Regions from separate parts of the Homo sapiens genome. Here region 1 is linked to region 2. Evidence: promoter capture Hi-C in human tissues and cell types (Jung and others, 2019). All regions are on one chromosome and are shown on one strand. The core of a region is centred on a gene start or on the middle of the fragment in contact, and the rest is flanking DNA. Distances in the headings are between cores, read along the strand shown.

Region 1 (4,882 bases), core at 1-2,500, 910 kb before region 2:
CTTGCGGCTGCTGAGGCTGCTGTTGCTGCTGCTGCTGCTGCTGCTGCTGCTGCTGCCGCCGCCGCTGCCCGTCGCTGGGGTCGGACGCGGGGACGGAGCTGGAGACCCAGCGCCCCGGAGCTGGAACCGGCCCTGGCCCGACGGTGGCGCCGGCCACCTTCCTCCAGAGCAGGCGGCTCATGGTTGGTGCAGGGACCCCCACGCTGGGAGTCAGAACACCTGGCTTTGGGCTCCAGCTTGGCTTCTTTTACTGGCTGGAAGACGTGGAGAGAGACACGTCCTGTCTCTGCTCTCCTGTCAGTGAAATGGGTTTGACCATGCCTGCCTTCCACCCCAAATCCTAAAGGAGACAGATGATATAAAGCGTTATTTTACCATATATGTAATAGGTGTATCCATAATCATCATTCCTTGAGCATTTACTGCGTCCCCAACACTGTGCCAGGCGCTTCAGTTGCATTTTCCGTTAAGCCTCAAAACTTGGGAAACGTCAATACCCCTCCTGGGGGAACCGGGGTCCACGCAACTTCGTCAGTGAACCCACGTGGGGAAGCCGAGGGCAGCGAGTAAGAGAGCAGTATCTGGAGTAGGGCGACGCGGTTTTGAACCCCGCTTCTGGCTCTCTCGAGCTGTGTGACCTTGGGCAAAGCTCCTTAGGCCCTGATATCCTATTCTGTAAAATGGGATTACGGATTCTGCCTGTCACACCGGGCTGCTGTCTGGGGGACACAGGGCGCCTATGTCGTGCGGCCCTGCTCTTGGCAAGCGCTCGGCAAATGGTGGCTGCCATTACCGCGACCGGCGCGGGCCTAGCGTCGAGAGGTGCCAGCGCCCGGATTCGAACCCGCAGGGTGGGCCGCCGTCCCCCGGGACCCACACCCACACCCGGACCACGGCCCACCCGGCCGAGAGCGTCCTGCAGGAGGAGTCGGCGGCCACCCCCGTGCGCCCCGCCGCCCGCCTGCGCCCGGCAGAGGCGCCGCGGTGCGCCCTGGGACTAGCCGCCGCCCTGCTCCGGGCCTCGCTCCCTGACTGGAGAGGGAGGGGCCGCGCCGTCGCTCAGCGACCCGGCCTCCCCGCCGCCGACCCCGCCGGAAACCTCGGTCCTCACGGTGCTTCCCGGTCTGCTGCTCCCCCGACCCCAGGCCCACGGCACGGCGTCCCCCTTCGCGCGGCCTACGCAGCCTCGGGGTAGCGTGTGGCCTCCACCCGGCCGGTCCGCTTCGCTGGCAGCCGCAACTTCCCGTCTGCACCCAGCTAGGTCCCGCGGCTACCCGAGAGGCAAGCGGGAGACTCCCAGCGCGACCAATAGGAGGGCCGCCAATGGAGCGGTCCGCCCGCGGGGGGAGAAGGGGGACTTCTGGGTGGGCTCTCCCTGCGGAACGCGCGAACCAAAGGCCAACCTCCCCTTCTCAAGGAGCAGGTGGATTGGTCCCGAGCTAGCTGGTGGGCGGAGGTGACGTTTTTATAAGTTGCTCAAGAGACGGTAACAACCGACGGGCCGCGTGGCCTAATGGATAAGGCGTCTGACTTCGGATCAGAAGATTGCAGGTTCGAGTCCTGCCGCGGTCGAAGGGAGGTTATGATTAACTTTTAGTTTATTCCTCCCTCAGGAACGAAGTATTGGGACAATGTGAACGTAGTCGCCGCCGATTCCCACCGCACTTCAAAGATGTGGGAACGCCAAGATCCGCGGAAGTAACCACGCCCAGCAAGTCCCTGCGAGATTGCCCGCCTACGTGTCTCAGCGGAGGCACATTTCTAAAATGTACCAGGTCTCTCGCACCCCGACGCAGGTGGAGGAAAGTGGAGAGGGAGGGGCATCCTGTACAGAAATCTCAATTTATACTCAATTGATGGTTGGCAAGAGTTGGGGCTCGCAGCCAAAGCGAGGCTCCCTCCCTCGCCCATCCGGTGCTGCCTCCTCGTCCAGAGCAATTCTGAGGGGTAAAAATGTTGCCTTCCGTTGAACCTGAATTTGCCCGCAGATGCTAGCCTCCGGCCCACAGCGCGGCTGGAGCTTGTCCCCTTCCCCAGCTGTTTCCAGTCTCCGCATCCGTCTTGTGTTGCTCCAGGTGCTTCAACAGCTCTCAGCGCTCGGTGGTTGGTGAACTGTGGTAAAGTGCACGCAGAATAAGGTCTACGTGATTAAGCACCGCCTGGGGGTTGGGGTCTGGAGGCCCAGCTGCACAGATGAAAGGGAGGCTCAGAGACGTTTGGGACCAACCGAGATCACACAGCTGATTAGGAATAAAATTCAGGTCAAGCTGAAAGTCGGCCGCCACCGTCCAGCGTGGATCCCAGGACACCGTGAACGGACTACAGAAGTTGACTTTCGCGTTTTTAAGGAGTGGGGTGCAGGGAAACAATCCTCCGCCGGCCCTGCGGGCTGATGCCGACCCTCACCTGCTCCCGCCACGTGGAGAGGTAGAGAGAAGCCCCGGGCCAAGCAGCATTGAGCCCTGGTCCCTTCTATTTAAATATGAAATATTTTGCATACACTTTTCTAGATGTACTTAATATACACAATGTTTTAATGTTTGTGATTTTTTTGTTTTGCCAAAAAAATACAATCAATCAGAAATTCATCTGTTTTTTTTTTTTTTTTCACATAACTGTTGACTTTTACAAAATACTGGAAGGAGAGGCTCTCAGCTTAAATCAGGGAGTCCCTGAATGGGGAAAACATTTTCATCTTGTTTCTTCTAACCGCCTACTGATACTTGGCATTTCCTCCAATTATGAGCATAGGCTGTCAGCCACAGTGGTATTAACAGTGCCTGTGACTTTGTCCCCTCCAGCAACCACAGATATTTTCATAACGCATTACAAGTGCTGCACATTTTTCAAAATTTGTTTGCACTTATCTGTACTTCAAAATAACAGGGGTTACTAGACTGCCACTAGATCCTGTTAGTTAATAAGTTTACCTATTTGTCCTAATATTTGAATACCTTTGGTGTCCTTTGTAATCCTTCATGTTTTATGTGCTTAAAAACACTATTCTTCCATATAACCAAAAACTGCCTGTACCCCTATTGAAATAAAAATTAATAAAACATATTTCACAGAAAAAAATTAAAAACAGAAACACTACTCTAGGCCAGGTTCAGTGGCTCACGCCTGTAATCCCAGCACTTTGGGAGGCTGAGGTGGATGGATTGCCTGAGCTCAGGAGTTGAAGACCAGTCTGGCCAACATGGCGAAACCCCATCTCTACCAAAAAAATACAAAACTTAGCCCGGCATGGTGGTGCACGCCTGTAATCCCAGCTACTTGGGAGGTTGAGGGAGGAGAACCTCTTGAACCCGGGGGGCAGAGTCTGCAGTGAGCCGAGATTGCACCATGGCACTCCAGTCTGGGCAGCAGAGTGAGACTCCATCTCCCCACTCCCCACCAAAACAACAACAACAACAAAAAAAAGAAAAAAAAGAAAGAAAGAAACACACTATTCTAAGAAGGTGTCTATGACACAAAAAAGCTAAGAACCCCTGGCCCAACTGTCCACAGGGGCTGCTGTTGCTGGGCCTGATTGGCCTCTCCTGAGATTCAGTCTCAGGAGATGTCCATCAAGATGCCTGCTCCTCCCATAGACTACTTGAGACTAGCCTAGTGCCCTGGTCCTGGAATTAGAATCTTCAACAAGGACAAAAACGGTTGATACTGATTCCTGCTGAGGGAGGGTACCTGGAGGCCTGCACCCTTCCTGCCAGGCTACACCCTGTTTCCAGGCCTTTCTGAACCCAGCTCCTCCACTTCCCCTGCCTCCTTTTCTAGGAACTCCCCCACGTCCTTCTAGAAAAGTCTGTCCTTGATAGTGGTTCCTGAGAAACAGTTACATTTTCCCACAATTCCCTGGACCTCTCCCCCCACAGAGCAAGAGGCAAAGTTCATTAGGACCCCTGTCCTCATCAAAACACTCCGTACTTTTTTTCTTCTTCTTCTTCTGAGACAGAGTCTTGCTCTGTGCCCAGGCTGGAGTGCAGAGGCGTGATCTCAGCTCACTGCAGCCTCCACCTCCCAGGTTCAAGCGATTCTCGTGCCTCAGCCTCCGGAGTAGCTGGGATTACAGGTGTGTGCCACCATGTGGATCTAATTTTTGTATTTTTAGTAGAGACTGGTTTCACCATGTTGGCCAGGCTGGTCTGGAACTCCTGGCCTCAAGTGATCCACCCGCCTTGGCCTCCCAGAGTTCTGGGATTACAGGCTTGAGTCACTGCGCTGGGCCAGAACACCCTGTACTTTCAAAGCATGTACCTCAGTTGTAACTAATGATGATTTTTTAAAAATCTCCCCCTTCCACTGCTGTAAATGCCCATAGGGACTGACCTTGTGTCTTATTTTGAGCTCAATTCCAGGACCTGCCTGGAGCTTGGTAATAACCGGCACTTGCTAGCTGCCAGGTGCTGTTCTAAGGGCTCACATATGTCACTTAAGTGAATCCTCACATCGACCCTTGGATAGAGGTACCGTTATCCCCTTTCACCCATGAGGAAACTAAGGCACAGAGAGGCGAAGCAGCTTGCCTAAAGCCCTATAGCTGGTCATTGGTAGAGCTGGGATTTGAATTCATGGAAACCAGGATCTCAGCAACTGCACTACACGGCAAATACTGGCTTTATGATGCTAGCAGAGGATCCCTACTGCACAACTGTGTGCCAGGCGCTGCACGTGCACACTGATGTGGCCTCCTACATCACTGCTGCTGACTAAGTAAGGGGCCCTCAGGTGACAGCCTGCTCCTCCAGAGTCCCTCTCGTGTGCTTACTTCCTGGTGACTTTCATGGTCTTCTCTCAGGTTTGCCAAGCCCAACTCCAGCAATTTCTGCCACAGACAGAAAATATCACCACTCTTCCTTTATCAACAGCTACCACTTGCAAA
Region 2 (5,185 bases), core at 609-3,108:
GATTTCTAGAGAAATTATAATTCCATCAAAGATTTTTTTGTTTGCTTTTTTTTTTTGAGACAGAGACTCCCTCTGTCGCCCAGGCTGGAGTGCAGTGGCGCGATCTCCGTTCACTGCAAGCTCCGGATTCACACCATTCTCCTGCCTCAGCCTTCCAAGTAGCTGGGACTACAGGCGCCCGCCACCATGCCCAGCTAATTTTTATTTTTTTATTTTTTTATTTTTAGTAGAGAGGGGGTTTCACCGTGTTAGCCAGGATGGTCTTGATCTCGTGACCTGGTGATCCGCCCACCTTGGCCTCCCAAAGTGCTGGGATTACAGGCGTGAGCCATCACACCCGGCCAGATATTTGTTTTTTTAAATACGAGTTCTCACTCTGTCACCCAAGCTGAAGTGCAGTGGCATAATCATAGCTCACGGCATCCTCTTAACTCCCATGCTCAAGAGATCCTCACACCTCAGTCTTCCTAGTAGCTGGGACTACAGGGCCTGCCACCTAGCCTTGCTGATTCTATGAAAGATTTTGAGGAGATGAGGAAGGCTGGTATCTTTCAAAGTGCAAAGTGATTTTGGTATAAACAGTTTCTTTGGGTTGCATTACATAGAAGTTTATCACTAACCTATGTTCCTGAACTATGAAACATGAATATGTGGGCAAAGAAATAGCTTATCTTTATAGACAATTAACAACAACAAAAACAGTCTATGAATTAGAGAATGTCCATGCCTTTTTTAGGCCGAGTTCAGTGGTTCATGCCTGTAATCCCACCACTTTGGGAAGCCAAGGTGGGCAGGTCACTTGAGGTCAGGAGTTCAAGATCAGCCTGGCCAACACAGCAAAACCCCATCTCTACAAAAAATACAAAAATTAGCCAGGCATGGTGGTGCGCACCTGTAGCCCCAGCTACTTGGGACGCTGAAGTGGGAGGATTGCTTGAGCCTGGGAAGCTAAGTAAAGTTGCAGTGAGCTGCGATCACACCACTGCAATCCAGCCTGGGCTACAAAGCAAGACCCTGTCTCAAAAAAAAAAAAAAAAAAAAAAAAAAAAAAAAAAAAAAAAGTCCATGTCTTTTTAAAAGGATGGAAACATTTTAAGTGTTCTCTAGATTTAGCCACACAGTATAATTTTAGGGTGACAAGTTGAGCTGAGTTGGGTGGAGGTGGTGAGCAGAAATCAAAGTGGGTGGATGTCAGGAAGAGAAGGTGACAGTGAAGGAGCACTGTGATAAGGCGGTTTGGTTATTCCTTAATGGAGCTGTCTCAGTCCACCAGAGGCAAAGCCTTGAAAGGCACGTGGCCTTACCATGGCTGTCACTCTTGAATGCATAGGCTTTGCTAGCTAAACTTAGAGTTACTAAAGAATTGAGCCCGGCGTGGTGGCACGCTCCTGTAGTCACAGCTACTGGGGAGGCTGAGGCAGGAGGATTGCTTGAGCCCAGGAGGTCCAGGCTGCAGTGAGCTATGATGGTGCATTCCACTGCACTCCAGCCTGGGCGACACAGCAAGACCCCGTCTCAAAAAAAAAAAAAAAAAAAAAAAGGGAGAATTGAGGAGAGGCAAACAGCTATTTGTCCTCATTATATGCTTGGCCAAATTCCTTGGCCCGGGGTTTAGGGAAAGATGGGAGTGCGGCGAGAACTGGCTTCGAAGCGGGAGGGCTGCAAGTCCCATGATACACCGGAAGAATCTGGCGTCGAGGCCGGCCAGCTCCAAAGGGCAAACGCTGTCTCCCCCACCCAAGGTAGCCTCGGCCCGCGCCCAAGTGGGTGTGGCTGCGGGAAAGCCCCGCCCCCAGGACGCTTCTCCAATGGGAACTGCCCTCGTGTCCATGGCAACGGCGGCGGCCACGGGCTTGCTAGAGGAAGCGCTGCCCCGGCAGCCGCAGCCACGGCCACCGGGAGCTAGGAGTGAACCCCTGCGGGGGAGCAGCTTCCCCCTCGCGATCGTGGGGACAGCCAGTCCTGTGAAACGAGGAGGCGGTTCCGGACGCCCAGAAACGCCCAGGGAGACCTGGAGCCGGGGGAAGAGGGGACATGAGCGGCCAGCTGAGTCCATCCCCAGGCGGCTAGGGGCGGACCCAGCAGCCCCTCAGCTCTCCTCGTAACCACGGGTGGGCAGTCTCCACCGTCACAGCCCAAAGGGTCTTAGCCATCGGGTGCCTGTCCCTAGTGTGTACACGTGCAGAAAATGAGTCCTGGGAGAGGGAAAGGGCCAGCGTAGGGGGCTTTTGGTCTTCAGCTGTATTTTATTTTATTTATTTATTTATTTATTTATTTAGAGACAGACTCTTGCTCTGTCGCCCAGGCTGGAGTGCAGTGGTGTGATCTCGGCTCACTGCAACCTCCACCTCCCAGGTTCAAGTGATTCTCCTCCCTCAGCCTCCCGAGTAGCTGGGATTACAGGCAACGCACCAGCACACCCAGCTAATTTTTGTATTTTTAGGAGAGACGGGATTTCACCGTGCTAGCCAGGCTGCTCTCCAACTCCAGACCTCAAGTGATCTGCCCGCCTCAGCCTCCCAACGTGCTGGGCCGATTCAGCTGTATTTTAAAGCGAAGGTCCCCCCAGCACTCACAGCCATCCTCTTTCCCAATTAGGAACAAAAGAGCCATGGTCATGGCCCATACCATCTGTGTCCAACTCCTGAAGGCACCCCTGTGCGTTGTATGATCCAGTGTGAACCTGGATGATTGGGGCTTGTCATCAGGGAATCCACATCTCACTGGTGTCTTCCACCCCCATGCACCTCCACCTACCTGGACACATCCCATTCCTCAGTGAAACAGTTTTGTCCTGAAGGGGCAGCAACTTTCCCTTATAACAGCATGAAGGTCGTTCTGGTGGATTCCTTCAGGCCTTCTAGGGCCTGAGGGAGGTCTGAGGTCTGATATACACTTCATTCCCACCCCGCAACCCCTCAGAATCTGAGAGAATGGAGCCGAGTACCTGTAGGACCATGGAATCAGAGGAAGACTATGTTGAGGAAAAGGAATCTGAGAAGTGTGTTAAAGAGGGAGTTACCAACCCCTCTAACTCTTCACAGCAGGCTCTCTTAAAAGCTGACTATAAGGCATTAAAAAATGGGGTTCCCTCACCCATTATGGCCACAAAAATTCCGAAGAAAGTCATAGCCCCAGTTGACACAGGCGACTTAGAAGCTGGGAGGAGGAAGAGAAGGCGGAAACGCAGGTAACTATTCCCTAGATCCCCTCAACTGCCCAGCTCCAGGGAGTCACCCATTGGCCTCCCTTCAACATCTGGAGGAGCTGGGATCTCAGATCTTCCCTTTAGCCTACAAAAGAGGACAGGAAATGCTGGAGTGTCATTAACCCTTTGATACAACAGAAACAAAATTCAGAACCATTTAGGCTGGCTCATTTTGGAATCCCAGCCTGTTTATGTCATCCTGGTCTGTCTTTTTTTTTTTTTTTTTGAGACAGAGTCTCGCTCTGTCGCCCAGGCTGGAGTACAGTGGCGTGATCTCGGCTCACGGCAAGCTCCGCCTCCCGGGTTCAGGCCATTCTCCTGCCTCAGCCTCCCGAGTAGCTGGGACTACAGGCACCTGCCACCACGCATGGCAAATTTTTTTTTTTTTTTTTGTATTTTTAGTAGAGACAGGGTTTCATTGTGTTAGCCAGGATGGTCTCTATCTCCTGACCTTGTGATCCACCCGCCTCGGCCTCCCAAAGTGCTGGGATTACAGGCATGAGCCACCGCGCCCAGCCCATCCTGGTCTGTCTTTTAAGTGGCTTCTAGAGAAAAGGAATTGTGTTGTGAATTTGTTGGATGTCTTTTCATCTGAGTACCTGTCCTTCCCTCCCACTCTTCCTGATTTATGCTATTCCTCCATTCCAGATCACTGGCCATCAACCTGACCAACTGCAAGTATGAGAGTGGTAAGCACCCAGCCCGTCGCTCACACTGTGGTGCATAACATGGTGCCTACAGCTGCTGTTCTTCCTCTGGAATGGACCCCCGATCAGGCTTCCAGCCCCTGGGGCCTGGCGGGCTTGCCTCTAACCTGTACTGAGCTTCCTAGGTGTCCTCTGCCTCAGACACTGGAAGCTGAGACATTGCCATTCCAGGTAGTCTCAGTGTTAGGGAGGGTATCCTCACAGTAAACAAGAAAAAAAAAAAAAAAAGTCCAAGAGCCACTACTGCCCCACCCTTCCCAGATTTTATTTATTTATTTTTGAGACAGAGTCTCGCTTTGTCATCCAGGCTGGAGTGCAGTATTGCAATCATAGCTTAATGCAGCCTTGAACTCCCGAGCTCAAGCCGTCTTCCTATCTGAGCTTCCCAGTAGCTGGGACTACAGGCCTGCACCACTATGCTCACCTAATTCTTTTTTTTTTTTTGAGACCGAGTTTTGCTCTTGTTGCCCAGGCTGGAATGCAATGGCGTGATCTCGACTCACTGCAACCTCCACCACCCAGGTTCAAGCGATTCTCCTGCCTCAGCCTCCCAAATAGCTGGGATTACAGGCATGTGCCACCACATCTGGCTAATTTTGTACTTTTAGTAGACAGAGTTTCTCCATGTTGGCCAGGCTGGTCTTGAACTCCTGACCTCAGGTGATCCACCCACCTCAGCCTCCCAAAGTGCTGGGATTACAGGCATGAGCCACCATGCCCAGCCTGCCCAGCTAATTCTTAAATGTTTTGTAGAGACAGAGTCTTGCTATGTTGCCCAGGCTGGTCTTGAACTCCTGGGCTCAAGTGATCCTCCCACTTCAGCTTCTCAAAGGCCTAGGATAACAGGCAGGAGCCACCATGCCAGACCCTTCCCAGATTTTACCAGAGATGAGACAAGCTTAAAACAGTTTTTTCAAGGAAGATTTGAAGGGACTTCAACGATTAAGAAAAAAAACAATCTCCAGCTAGGTCCTTCCCCTAATATTCCCTCTGGCATCTTTATAAGGAACCACACAAGTATGGAGTGTGAAGTGCCAGTGTGACCCCACCTATAGGCAGCTCTCCAAGCCATAAACATCCCTGATTGAGAGATAAGACTGACAGGAGCAGCTGGGCACGGTGGCTCATGCCTGTAATCCCAACACTTTGGGAGGCCAAGGCAGGCGAATCTCCTGAGGTCAGGAGTTCGAGACCAGACTGGCCAACATGGTAAAACCCCGTCTCTACTAAAAATACAAAAATTACCCAGGTGTGGTGGTGGGCGCCTGTA

The links. The method cuts DNA at HindIII sites, captures the fragments that hold promoters and counts their contacts. A contact is called where the count stands out against the background at its distance.
Region 1: a contact is called between the fragment with the promoter of POLG here and the fragment with the promoter of TTLL13 in region 2, in 1 of the 25 tissues and cell types used here (stomach).

The regions. Positions count from the first base shown.
Region 1 is chr15:89,333,574-89,338,455 of GRCh38, forward strand. It overlaps POLG (DNA polymerase gamma, catalytic subunit), which reads right to left and starts at 1,251. Exons shown (of 23, transcript NM_002693.3): 1 at 1,100-1,251; 2 at 1-340. The coding sequence starts at 181. POLGARF (POLG alternative reading frame) reads right to left here and starts at 236. Exons shown (of 2, transcript NM_001430120.1): 1 at 1-236. The coding sequence starts at 236. POLG-DT (POLG divergent transcript) reads left to right here and starts at 914. Exons shown (of 2, transcript NR_186332.1): 1 at 914-1,281; 2 at 1,614-2,588. TRR-TCG1-1 (tRNA-Arg (anticodon TCG) 1-1) reads left to right here and starts at 1,500; the gene lies at 1,500-1,572. RefSeq lists enhancers at 519-1,020, 1,890-1,989, 2,000-2,069, 2,410-2,459 and silencers at 710-1,309, 3,267-3,436. The HindIII fragment of the contact is 12,446 bases long and covers 1-4,882 here.
Region 2 is chr15:90,247,698-90,252,882 of GRCh38, forward strand. TTLL13 (tubulin tyrosine ligase like 13) reads left to right here and starts at 1,859. Exons shown (of 15, transcript NM_001396017.1): 1 at 1,859-2,111; 2 at 2,923-3,190; 3 at 3,857-3,897. The coding sequence starts at 2,934. It also overlaps a transcript of CIB1 not described here. The HindIII fragment of the contact is 10,980 bases long and covers 1-5,185 here.